3 separate regions of the Homo sapiens genome follow, and all the other regions are linked to region 3. Evidence: promoter capture Hi-C in 16 types of primary human blood cells and fetal thymus (Javierre and others, 2016). All regions are on one chromosome and are shown on one strand. The core of a region is centred on a gene start or on the middle of the fragment in contact, and the rest is flanking DNA. Distances in the headings are between cores, read along the strand shown.

Evidence for each region. Contacts are between HindIII fragments. The CHiCAGO score rates a contact against its expected background, and 5 or more counts as called.
Region 1: a fragment that was not itself captured here is called in contact with the fragment with the promoter of GAB1 in region 3 in 2 of 17 cell types (monocytes and M0 macrophages); the score reaches 5.5 in monocytes.
Region 2: a fragment that was not itself captured here is called in contact with the fragment with the promoter of GAB1 in region 3 in 2 of 17 cell types (monocytes and total B cells); the score reaches 8.6 in monocytes.

The regions. Positions count from the first base shown.
Region 1 is chr4:141,310,772-141,314,417 of GRCh38, forward strand. No RefSeq gene overlaps it. Among named protein-coding and RNA genes, the nearest start is that of LINC02432, 20 kb to the right of the region's middle. The HindIII fragment of the contact is 404 bases long and covers 1,266-1,669 here.
Region 2 is chr4:141,226,780-141,230,912 of GRCh38, forward strand. ZNF330 (zinc finger protein 330) reads left to right here. Exons shown (of 10, transcript NM_014487.6): 5 at 1-67; 6 at 2,792-2,918; 7 at 3,387-3,491. Among named protein-coding and RNA genes, the nearest start is that of ZNF330, 8.0 kb to the left of the region's middle. The HindIII fragment of the contact is 2,365 bases long and covers 71-2,435 here.
Region 3 is chr4:143,335,433-143,339,484 of GRCh38, forward strand. GAB1 (GRB2 associated binding protein 1) reads left to right here and starts at 1,444. Exons shown (of 10, transcript NM_002039.4): 1 at 1,444-1,828. The coding sequence starts at 1,757. It also overlaps the pseudogene LOC124900789. RefSeq lists enhancers at 251-460, 1,370-2,183 and silencers at 653-820, 761-1,060, 1,161-1,220, 1,291-1,340. The HindIII fragment of the contact is 8,165 bases long and covers 1-4,052 here.

The DNA of each region.
Region 1 (3,646 bases), core at 218-2,717, 2.0 Mb before region 3:
TGTTGTCTGTAAGCCAGAGAACTAGGAAAGCTGGTGGTATAATTCAGTCTGAGACTAAAGGCCTGAGAGCCAGAAGTGCCAATGTCTGAGGGCAGAAGAAGCTGAATGTCCCAGCTCAAAGAGAGAGAGCACATTTTTATTCAGACCCCCAAGAGATTGAATGATGCTCACCTGCATTGGTGAGGGAATCTATGCAGTCTACTGATTCACATGCTAATCTCTTCTAGAAACATTCTCACGGACAAACCTGGAAATAATATCTTACCAGCCACCTGGACATCCCTCAGCCCAGGCAAGTTGATACATAAATTAACCATCACACTGAGCTTCAGTAGCATCACAGAGAGTTTTAATTGGATTTAGCTCTCTTCCTCCATTACCAGAAAGAAGTACCTTGGAGAAAATGGCAGTTTGGCAGAAGTAGCAAGAACCGCACTTGTGATGTATTTTTTTTTTTCATACAAACTTTCTCTCTAATGGTACTTATTAATTTCCAAAAGCCAAATATTTGTGGTCTGACTGCATCAGAATCACTTTGGGGACCTGTTAAAAATACTGATTCCCTAGTCCAATCCCAGAACTCTGGTGCCAGCCTTTCTGGCAGTGAAGCCTGAGGAGTGATGCTCCCACGTGGCTCTGATGGCCAGCCGCCTTAGGGCAGCACTGGCAAATGCTGGCTGATGATGAAACCTTAGACTAAGAAGAAATCTGGTGGTGGGGAGAGTACATTCTTAATTAGGGAAGAAACTACTGGCTGTTAAAAGGTGATATTAGTGACTTTGTCTTTGCAGATCAAACTGCCTATGGTGCCATCTGAAAGATTCCTCCATGAATATTTAGGAGGCACTGGGAGGGTTTCCTGTATTTTTAGTGGGGTGGTGGGGAAGGGGTCACATGGTGAATTTTCACAGCAGTTTTCTTAATCTGATTGTATGTTGAAATGATTTGTTATGGAAATAGGAAAGAGGAAGTACTGTAGTCTCTCACGTGGACTCAACCATATTTTTTTAAAGTAAGATTTTCCTTTTTGTAGAGATGGTTCTTGCTTTGCTGCCCAGGCTGGTCTCGAACTCTTGGCCTCAAGCAGTTTTTCTGCCTCAGCCTCCCAAAGTGGCAAGAAACACTGTGCCAAAGCCTGAGCCATCTTGTGGGACATGGACTCCTGTCTTTCAAGAGTCTTTCATCATCTTTCATGAGCTCCTTTCATGTCCTTCATGAGTCTTTCACCATCTTTCCCCTCAGTGTAGTACAAGGAAAGAGGAACAAGCTTAGCAGCCAGTGATGAAATAAAATCCTGCTGCTGCCACCCGCTAGCTGTGTGACTTTAGCCATGTTCCATAACCTCCCTGAGCATTCATGAATTCACTGGTCAAGCAGGGTTAACTTCTCACTGGTTTTGTGAGAATTAAGTGAGTTAACATACTTAAATATGAACTTAACCAATACTGATTCCCTTGTATAAATCTGTGTCCCTTGTTCCTGGGACAGAACAGGTGCTCCATAAAAGATAGGCAGAGATAGATGAAAGAATGGGTGGTCAGTAACTTGTACAGGACCTCACATCTGTAAGACATGCTAAACTATTTCTGAAAATGGTCTCAGACAAAGTTGTTTTTACCAGAAGTCATCTCAGGCAGTATTTTATGTTTTTGGAAGAAGTTCCTTCATAAGCTTCCTGGAATGGGAGTGGAGTAAGTGAGGGTGTGAATTGCTAGGACTACGAATCCTTTCCTGCCTACACAGTCCCAGTTGATACCTGTTGTAATAGCACCCCCTTTGACACTAGAAAGTATCCCAGGTTGGATACTTAATCACATGGTCATCATATGTAAGGGTCATGCTGAAATAACATTAAGTGGTCACTGAACCATCTTTGGGGAAGAGGGTTTCCTGCAGAGTGCTGGTGGTCCTGAACCAGTGTGTGAGCTTGGTGCTGGCGCAGATTTGTTTGGGTAGTTGAGGAGAAGCTGAGTATTGCCTCTAGCAACTTTCCCCACTGAGTGCTCAGTCCTCCTAAATACACCCTGAACAAAATAGTAGTTTTAAGGAGCACTAACAGACCCACAGTTCAGGCTAGCCCAGATGGGGCTACAACTATTTGCTACCTCAATAATTAGGTGGTAGAGTTATTTATCAGAAAGAGAAATGGGCTAAGCACCAGGGAGTCCAAACTTTAGGCTTCACGGTTATTTAAGCTGTGTCTGATTTACTTTTGTCAGTCGCATTTAGCTGCTGTCATTGCATGTGCTTCTGAGAGGCTGCAGCCAGCCCTGGGTGATGTCCCATGGAACTTTCCTGGGAGTTACAGTGAATAAATTTTGAGACACCTTAACAGCTCCTGGGGCTGCTCTACTCCTTTCTGTATTTCAAGAATTTTCCAAATAATTGGGCTGTTGGGTAAGTGTGGTCTAGTTTCATTGGCGAGGTGTGGCAATGGTTTAACACTGCACCGTGTTCTGCTGGAAAAGTGGGACATAGACCTGTGGCCTCTCCTTTCTCTATCTGTGCTCACTCCCTGGATAATCTCTTCTGATCTCAAGAATTTCATGCCACCTCCATATAGCTGACTCCCAAATGTATACCCTCAGGATGGAACTATTCCCAGAATCACAGGTTTGTATATATAGCGGTGTATTTGATATTTCTTCACAGATGGCTAATAGACATTTCAAACTTATTATGTCCAAAATTAAACTCAATGTTACCCCAAACCTCAAGTTTTTTCCATCTCATTCCCTGGGAATTCCATTCTCCCAGTTGTTCAGGCAAAAAAATCTTAGAGTCATCTTTGAATTCTCTCTTTCACTCGTACTACATTTAACATGTTAGCAAATCTTATCCATTTTACCTTTGAAATCTGTCCACAATTCAACAACTTTCAGTTATCTTCACTGCTTCTACTTTGGTCTAAGCCACCCTCAGGCATTGTCAAGATTATTTCAGGAGTCTCCCAGTTGATCTTTTTGCTTTCACCCTTGGTCCTCTCACAGTCGGCTGCAGCCAGAAAGATCCTGTTAAATGTAATTCACATAATGTCCCTACTCTTTTTTTCTAAAATCCTCCAGTGGTTCACAGGGACTGAACTGTTCTCTCTCCTACTTCCTCCATCCCAACTCTCTAAGATCATATACTGATTCTATGCCTCCCTGGCTCTGCTGTAGCTGCATTGGCCTCTGCTGTTTATAGAATAGGAACACACATTTCCACTAGAAGATTCCCACCAGGTGAGCTTCTGCCCCGGTCTCTATCCTTGCTCTTTCCTCTGCCTGGAATGCTTCTCCTTGAGGTATCCTCTCCATTCATCCCTGCCCCCTTCATGCCCTTATTCAGATATGGGCTTCTCGCTCTAAAGTTGCACCCACTCTTCTCACTCCTCTTCCCCTTTCTTCCTTTATTGTTCTTCTTAGCACTGGTCACCATTTAACATATTTTATATTTTTTATATATACATATATATACACACACACACACATATATATACACACACACATGCACACACACATTATATATAATTTATATATTATATATAAAATTGTTTGTGCTCCTCAACTTAAACATGAGCTCTGAGGGCAGTGATTTCTTCTGCTGCTTAATCTGTTTGAGTAACTGCTATAGTTTCAGGATTTAGTAAAGTGTCTGACATGAG
Region 2 (4,133 bases), core at 3-2,502, 2.1 Mb before region 3:
CATGATGAAGTCTTCAGACTGTGTCATAAAGCATGCTGGTGTATACAGTACTGGCCTTGCAATGGTGGTAAGCTTCTTATTATCTCTTAGACTAGTACGTTTTCAAGGATAAGAAAATGTCATTCTGATCAGTGGTTATTTTTTTCTAAATATCATTGCTTTGTCCCTTGTTTCAATCAATCTGTAGTTATCTGGATTATGAGTGGCATGCTTTTTGTATGATTTTCCCTTAGTACCCACTTGTTTCTAGCTGCTTCTTTCTTTCTTATTAGGGAACATACAAGGCATGGAAACTTTTCATGCTGATCTAAACAGAATTTCATTTCTCAGTGGTACCTTTTTTTTTTTAAATTTTATTATTATTATTATACTTTAAGTTTTAGGGTACATGTGCACAACATGCAGGTTTGTTACATATGTATACATGTGCCATGTTGGTGTGGTGCACCCATTAACTCGTCATTTAGCATTAGGTATATCTCCTAATGCTATCCCTCCCCCATCCCCCCACCCCACAACAGTCCCCGGTTTGTGGTGTGTGATGTTCCCCTTCCTGTGTCCATGTGTTCTCATTGTTCAGTTCCCACCTATGAGTGAGAACATGCGGTGTTTGGTTTTTTGTCCTTGCGATAGTTTGCTAAGAATGATGGATTCCAGCTTCATCCGTGTCTCTACAAAGGACATGAACTCATCATTTTTTATGGCTGTATAGTATTCCATGGTGTATATGTGCCACATTTTCTTAATCCAGTCTATCATTGTTGGACATTTGGGTTGGTTCCAAGTCTTTGCTATTGTGAATAGTGCCACAATAAACATACGTGTGCATTTGTCTTTATAGCAGCATGATTTATAATCCTTTGGGTATATACTCAGTGGTACCTTTCTAATATCTCTTAACCAGACTTCACAAAACAGTATTTAGTGTACCGAAAGCCCTGCTTAACCAACGTTTAAGCCTTTGGTTAAATAAGCAACTTAGTTCCAAACGAACCTAGGATAATAGTGTTCTTTAAAACTTTACATTTCAAAAAAGTGTATATATTTAACATACCTCTTCATTACATATAGGATTTTTTAAAGTAAATTCAGCTTTTTGAATAATAAAACCAACTGGATTATGTGATGTATTTTGCTCTTTTTCCTGAAACATGTTTTCCTTCTAAATATGAGTTAACCAGTTTTACTGTATTGCAGTATGATTTTATGTTCAAATAAAATTTTGTTCAAATTTTAATCTATGAGGAAAATGATACTATATTTATGTCAAATGGAATATTTTATTTATGGTAAATTTCCAAGAACATGTAAACTTCTATTATGAGGGAGACCTATGATATATTTCATATGTGCATATATTATAGAAGCAAGGAGCGAGAATTATCATCTTGTGAATTGCTCTTTATTTTAAGTATAGGATTGTCAAGTTATCTTTATTCAAAAACACTTTCAGTCTTCCTTGGTAGCTTAAGTTCAGCCAAATTCATTTTTTAAAATCACTGTTTTTTGAATGTGAATAATTTCTTCTTACATAAAGAAAACATTTAAGTAGAGTCATATATCTTTAGTTGTAAATTCTAGAAAAGTGATTTTCTGGATATCTTCTATTTGCCTCCCCAGATTCCCCCTGAGAATAGCAGGAGAATAAGATCTGGGTGTTTATTCCTTCATCTCACTCCGTACCAGGTTATCCTGGTTTGGTTTTATCCTTTCTCTAAGGACCACAGTTCTCCCTATATGGCCAGGTAGTCCTCTCCTGTTTGTCCTAAGAACTTCCCTGTCCTCTGCAAATTATCTCTTTAAAACTCTTCTAGATTACCTAGTTTGAGAGTACCATCTCTTTTTTGCAAGAACCCTGGCTGATCCAAGAGATATAGTTGATGATTTGCTAGCTATACTGATAACCCATTTTTGCAAGTCAAAAAACATTCTTCCTATTTGTTGTTTACTACATTTGTTTCAGAGCCTTGAATAATAGAATACTGAATTGAGATTCTGAAATCCTGGCTTTAAATCTCACCTCACCTGTAATCCAACTCGGGACTTGGATTTAGTCTTGGGCCCCATGCTTTTCCTTTATAAAGGAAAGATTGTCTGATCCTACTCTCTTAAGATTCTTTCTAGCTTTTAATATTTGGTAGGTGTCAATGTTTTATTGAAACATATTGTTATTGTCTTTTCTTGATATAGAATTGGAGAATCTTACCCTGTATTTTAGTTCCATATATTTTACTTCAAATTTTTTCCACAAAGAAATGTAATTATTATTAAAACATAAGTTGTCATAAGAGAAAAAAAGAAGCTGGCAGAAGTTTCGTATTTCTCAGTAATTCTAGAAAAGCTATGCAAATATATAGATAAGAAGGTATTTTAAAAATCAGAAATGGTAGTATTTAAAAATTCAGTGTAGTTACAGGAATTATTATAGACAAGAAAGCTTAAGCTGTTGGTTCCTTCAAACTTTATTTGAATTAAATTCATTTTGAGGAAAATACTTCCATCTCTTTGGCTTAATTAAATAATATTAGGATAAGTGTACAGTTTACCTTTTTTTCTTTTGATATGTAACTGAGTTTTGTATATTGTGGATAGCTGTTAAGAAGTTGTTTTTCAGAGAACCCTTTTTATTTTTGGCTTAGAGTGAGTAGTAAAATGTTTAAATGAAGCGGCCTACTATCATTGAGGGTTGATAAATTGCTAAATGTATACAGTTTTGATGGTTGCCGTGGTTAAAGAATGGTTGCAGGTGGTCAGGTGATAATGATTATGTATTCTTGTTCCTTGGTTACAGGGTGCAATATGTGACTTCTGTGAAGCTTGGGTTTGCCATGGTAGGAAATGTCTCAGTACACATGCTTGTGCCTGCCCTCTTACCGATGCTGAGTGTGTTGAATGTGAACGAGGCGTGTGGGACCATGGTGAGTCATTAGACACAAGTAATGAGCTTTGTTATAGGTGAATGTTGACTTTGAAACATTTTGAATGCTGTTTTTGAGATTTTTTTCAGGATACTGTCAATCCTAACTACTGGTACTGTTTTGATTATCAGTGTAGTTAGAGAAGGGATCTATACTGTCTGTTATTGTCAATGCTAGTATTGTTTACCCAAACATGGAGGGAAGTTGTGGTGGAGCAGGTAGTCTCTTTGAGCATTGTGAGTGTTATATGGGTAGCTAGTGGAGAGTAAGAGCCCCCTTTTCTCAGTTTCAGTTCAGTTTCAAGGACTTCAACAGTTTTCATTTTAGCTTTTATCAGAATAAAAATGGCTGAACAATTTTGGTGTATCTCCAAAGTAACTTACCATCTCTTCTAAGCAGTATTATAGATATGAGTTTTTTTAAATTAAAGTTTATCTTAATTACATTTGTGTTTTTTTAATCCAATAGGAGGCAGAATATTCAGTTGTTCTTTTTGCCATAACTTTCTCTGTGAAGATGATCAATTTGAGCATCAAGCCAGCTGCCAGGTTTTAGAGGCAGAAACATTTAAATGTAAGTTTTTAAGTATTAGATGTTCTTTATACCCAAGATTCTGAATAGTATAATTATTAATCTTAATGAAAAAGGAATCAAGTTTTTTTATACTGCTTCTCATGAACTGTAATTTAACTCAGTCTTTATTTTCTGTTTCTAGAAAACAGAACAGTCAGAATATAGTTGTAAATTTTTCAGCAGGGATGCCAGTGGCATATTGGTTGGGCCAGTTTTTCATTTTGTAGGCTTGATTTGATCAGGCATTGCAGGACTTACACCTTTCGTGGTTCAGAGTACCACATGTCATTTTTACCTTCAAATTATTATAAAAAACCAAACCTCACCCTTCCTTCCCATTTCCAAATGCCCTCCCGTAAGAGATACCACCCTGTTTGTTTCTGCTAGTTGGTTCTAGTGATTCTTAGACAGGACTGTATATCAAAAATACCTGTGGAGGTTTTAAAAATAATGTAGATGTCCAGGCCTCATCCCTGGAGATTCTATCTTTTAAGTCCGTGGTGGGTGCCAGGCACCTGTATTTAACCTATACACAAAATTCTCACGTATTTTCCAGTTGAGAGCCAGCATTGCTGACTGGGTAATAGTATCATCTTTACACATAGTTTTTTTCTTGGAAGGTTCATTGAAATGAGACACCAT
Region 3 (4,052 bases), core at 194-2,693:
ATTGGGTTTCTCCATGTTGGTCAGGCTGGTCTTGAACTCCCGACCTCAGTTGATCCGCCCGCCTCGGCCTCCCAAAGTGCTGGGATTACAGGCGTGAGCCACCGCGCCCGGCCAAGTGTCCCTCTTCTAGTCCAGCATCCGAACAGTAGATTTCAAACAAATACAAAGTTAAGTGGAATAGGCAACAAATGGAAGGGGTGTGAGACTTCAAAATGTCTCAGAGATAGGACCCAACCAAATCCTTGGCCTCGCCAAGCGCCCCCATCACTCTGGCAGAACAGCTCCAGAGACCAGCCCTGGCCAGCCCTGGGTCCCCATCTGTCCTCCCCTCCAAGCTGGTAGCTCCCGCGCCCTCTTGGTCTGTCCTTTAATCTCGCGCGGCGGGGACCGGCAGGATGGTGGTCTCCCCGCGGTTTTGCCTTTCAGGCTCTCAAGTAAAGAAAACCCTCGAAACTCCTGATCTCGAGCACAGCACAAGCTCCGAGCTGGCACCGGGCTGAGTCAAGATGGCAAGCCCCGGACTGAACATTCGAATGTCCCTCAGTCTTCCCCGCGCCCAAGCCCCGGTGCCTCTGCCCTAGCCGAGGCCTCTGCGGTCTTCCCGGGCGAGGAGCCGATTGGGGGCCGCCGGACGGCGGAGGACCCTGCTCCTGCTTCCCGAACTACAGATCCCAGGGTGCCTCTCGGACTCGCGCTCCCTCCCTCCCTTGCTCCCTCCCTTCGTCCGTCTCCTCCCCCGGCCCTTGTTGTTTTGGCTGGAAGCACTCCGGCGGAGTTTCAGAGAAAGTCTGGGCAGAAACCGGAGCCGGGCCTGAACGTGGGAAGGGGAGGAGGAGAGGGAGGAAGAAGGAGCCCGGCGGCCGGGAGAGGGAGGGAGGGATCGGGATCTGGGGCCGAGCCGCTCAGGACCTGCCGCGAGCCCCGGGGTGGGGGAGGCGGCGGGGGAGGAGCGCGAGGGGACGGGACAGCGGGATCCCTCCCAGGAGCCAAGCCGCCAAGCGCCTCGTTCCTCTGCTGCTCCCCGCCCTCTTCGGCGGCCGCGAGAGCGGACCCACCCTCCGGCTTGACCTGCGACCTCCCTGCGCCCGCCGCTCAGAAACGCCCCGCGCTTCGCTGCCAACCCTGCGGCTCCCTCTGTGACCCGGGACCAGCCCCGCGCCCGCTGCCCGTAGGCGGCTCGCGGCTTCCCCTTTCCTCGGCGTTCACCGAGCGCCGCGAAGTGACCCACCCTCCCCCGAGGAGAGGGAAGGAGGATCGCTCCGGGCGCATCGAAACCGAGGGCGGGTGGGCGGGCGAGCGGGCACCGCGCGGGGCATTGTGTGTGTGTGTGTGTGTGTGTGTGTGTGTGAGCAGCGCTGTGTCTGTTTCGGAAAGCGCTCTGGGGAGGTCTTGTCCCTAGGGGGCGGAGCGCAAAGGACAGAAGCTCCGGCACCGAGTCGGGGCAGAGTCCCGCTGAGTCCGAGCGCTGCTGAGGCAGCTGGCGAGACGGCACGTCTGGAGGCGAGGCGGGCGCACTGAAAGGAGGCCGGCGCGCCCGCGGCCCCGGCTCGCGTTCTGTTCAGGTTCGTGGGCCTGCAGAGGAGAGACTCGAACTCGTGGAACCCGCGCACCGTGGAGTCTGTCCGCCCAGTCCGTCCGGGGTGCGCGACCAGGAGAGCTAGGTTCTCGCCACTGCGCGCTCGGCAGGCGTCGGCTGTGTCGGGAGCGCGCCCGCCGCCCCTCAGCTGCCCGGCCCGGAGCCCGAGACGCGCGCACCATGAGCGGTGGTGAAGTGGTCTGCTCCGGATGGCTCCGCAAGTCCCCCCCGGAGAAAAAGTTGAAGCGTTATGTAAGTAGAGCTGCGGGCACCACTCCGCGGGCCTCGGCGTCCACACCCCTCCCCAGTCGGCTCGCCGGCGGCTGCAGCTGGCCGCGCGCGGGGCTGGTTCTTAAACGAATGCCGGTCTCTTTCCCCTTGGCCCCTACCCCTGGCGGGCTCGGGACAGGGTGCCTTGCACTCCCTCACGCCCAGGCATCCACTTGGCCGGACAACTTTCTTCCTCCAGGTTCCAGACAGCCTGCTTTGCGGGCCTGTTCGCCCCATAAAAGGACCTAGACGTCCAGCTAAACTCCTGCTGCATGCTTTTTTTCTTCCTTAGGAAGGATGGGGTGCGATGGAGAGAGGAGCCTTCTTCCTGCTTTATTCCTGCATCTGATTATTGGGCTGATGTGTGCTAAAGCTCCCGCACCGGGAAAACTGCCGAGGTTTTAGGGCTCACTAGCCCTTTCTTTGGTGGGCGCTCCCTCTCCTCCGCCCCTCGAGATGGGTTGCGGGAAGCGGGCTGTGGAGCTGAGGAGTTGGTAGTAGAGACAAGCATATCGAACGCGCGCAAAAGGGAAAGAAAGAAAAGTTATTACGCGCCCTGCCGTTTGCTTAGCAGGGTTCACATTTTCGCGGTTTTGAATTGAGGGACTTTGGAGTTTGGCCCGGGAGCCTTGGCGGTTTGCTGCGAGAGGAGGGCGCTGGGGGGGAGCCTAGTGGCTGGTGTTTGGGCGCCTTGGATGTGCTGTCAAACTCGGCAGGAGGGGACAGCTGAAGCCAGAAGGGATTTCAGTTGCGGTCCTTTCCCAGGGAACCAGAGTGGCTTTAATGGTGTTTGTGTAATTGATACAAGATGCTATGTGTTAAACCGTTTTAGCTGTTAGGAAAAATATTCCTTGAAAGTATCAACCTTGCTTTAGTGGAAACCTGTGTCCTCTTCAGAGGTCTGGGATCTTATTCTTCCTCCCCATTGGTTGTTTTGTTGCTGCTCCCTTGCAAAGGAAAGAAATGACACTTTTGTGCTGACATCTGGATCAAATATTTTTCTAGTAAAATGTGTTTGCAAAAGCAAAATTTATGCCCCCTTAAATATAATATAAATTTAATGCCTGTACGAAGGGAACCCGTTTGTCGTTGAGGAATATCTACACCCAGTATTAGAGCTCAGGTTAATCCTGTTAGTCACTGTTTGCTTGTATAGAACAGAGTGAAGTACACAGAGTGAAGTATTTAACTTCACTGACAACTCACCAGTGAATTTCTGATTTACTTTCTGCCAGAATTTATTATAGACAAGTAATTTTATTGAAAGACTCGATGCCACAAATCATAAGAAAGCTCTCCAGAGATGTGTAATGCCTCCAAATCCTGTCCATCTATCAGTTTTCCTGAATATCCTAGTAAAAATGCTAACTTTATTCCAAAAATATGAACGAGGCAGTGTTTTTTTTTCCAGCTGTTCTAAAGAGAAAGGTAGGGGTGTGTGTGTGTGTGTGTATGTGACAGAGAAGGAAGGGAGAAAGGGGTAGGGAGATAAATATATTTGTTTTGAGAAGGCCCAATTTAGGAAAAACAGATTCTTGGAGGAATTAAAGAATAACATATTTGCTGAACGTGAAAGTGATAATATAGGTTTAATTCATTCTTTCACATGGTTAGTTCATGGCTCACTCAAAAGACGCCAGGCACTGTATTAGACACCAACCATAAGGTCACAAAATACAGTAGGAAAAAGGAAAAAAGCCCTGCCTCTTGGGCTTAGAATTCAATTGAACTATTAACCAGGAAAGAAATCAGCCAAAAAGATTATGTCTTAACAAGAAAAACAAAAAGGAAAGTATAATTTGATCATTACAACTGTTTTCTGAGGTAGGTGTCATCTCTATTTTACAGAAAACAGTCCTGCATTTGAACCCAGATCTGCCTGATTGATTGGACTGTAAAAGGTTAACGACTCTCACCTAGTTCATTTCAAATGTGGAGCTTAGACTAGGTTATCTCTAAAGGTCCTTCAGGCTCACACCTGTAATCCCAGCACTTTGGGAGGCCGAGGCCAGTGGATCACCTGAGGTCAGGAGACCAGCCTGGCCAACATGGCGAAACTCTGTCTCTACTAAAAATACAAAAAATAGCCGGGCGTGGTGGTGTACGCCTGTAATCCCAGCTGCTGGGGAGGCTGAGGCAGGAGAAATGCTTGAACCTGGGAGGTGGAGGTTGCAGTGAGCAGAGTTTGTGCCATTGCACTGCAGCC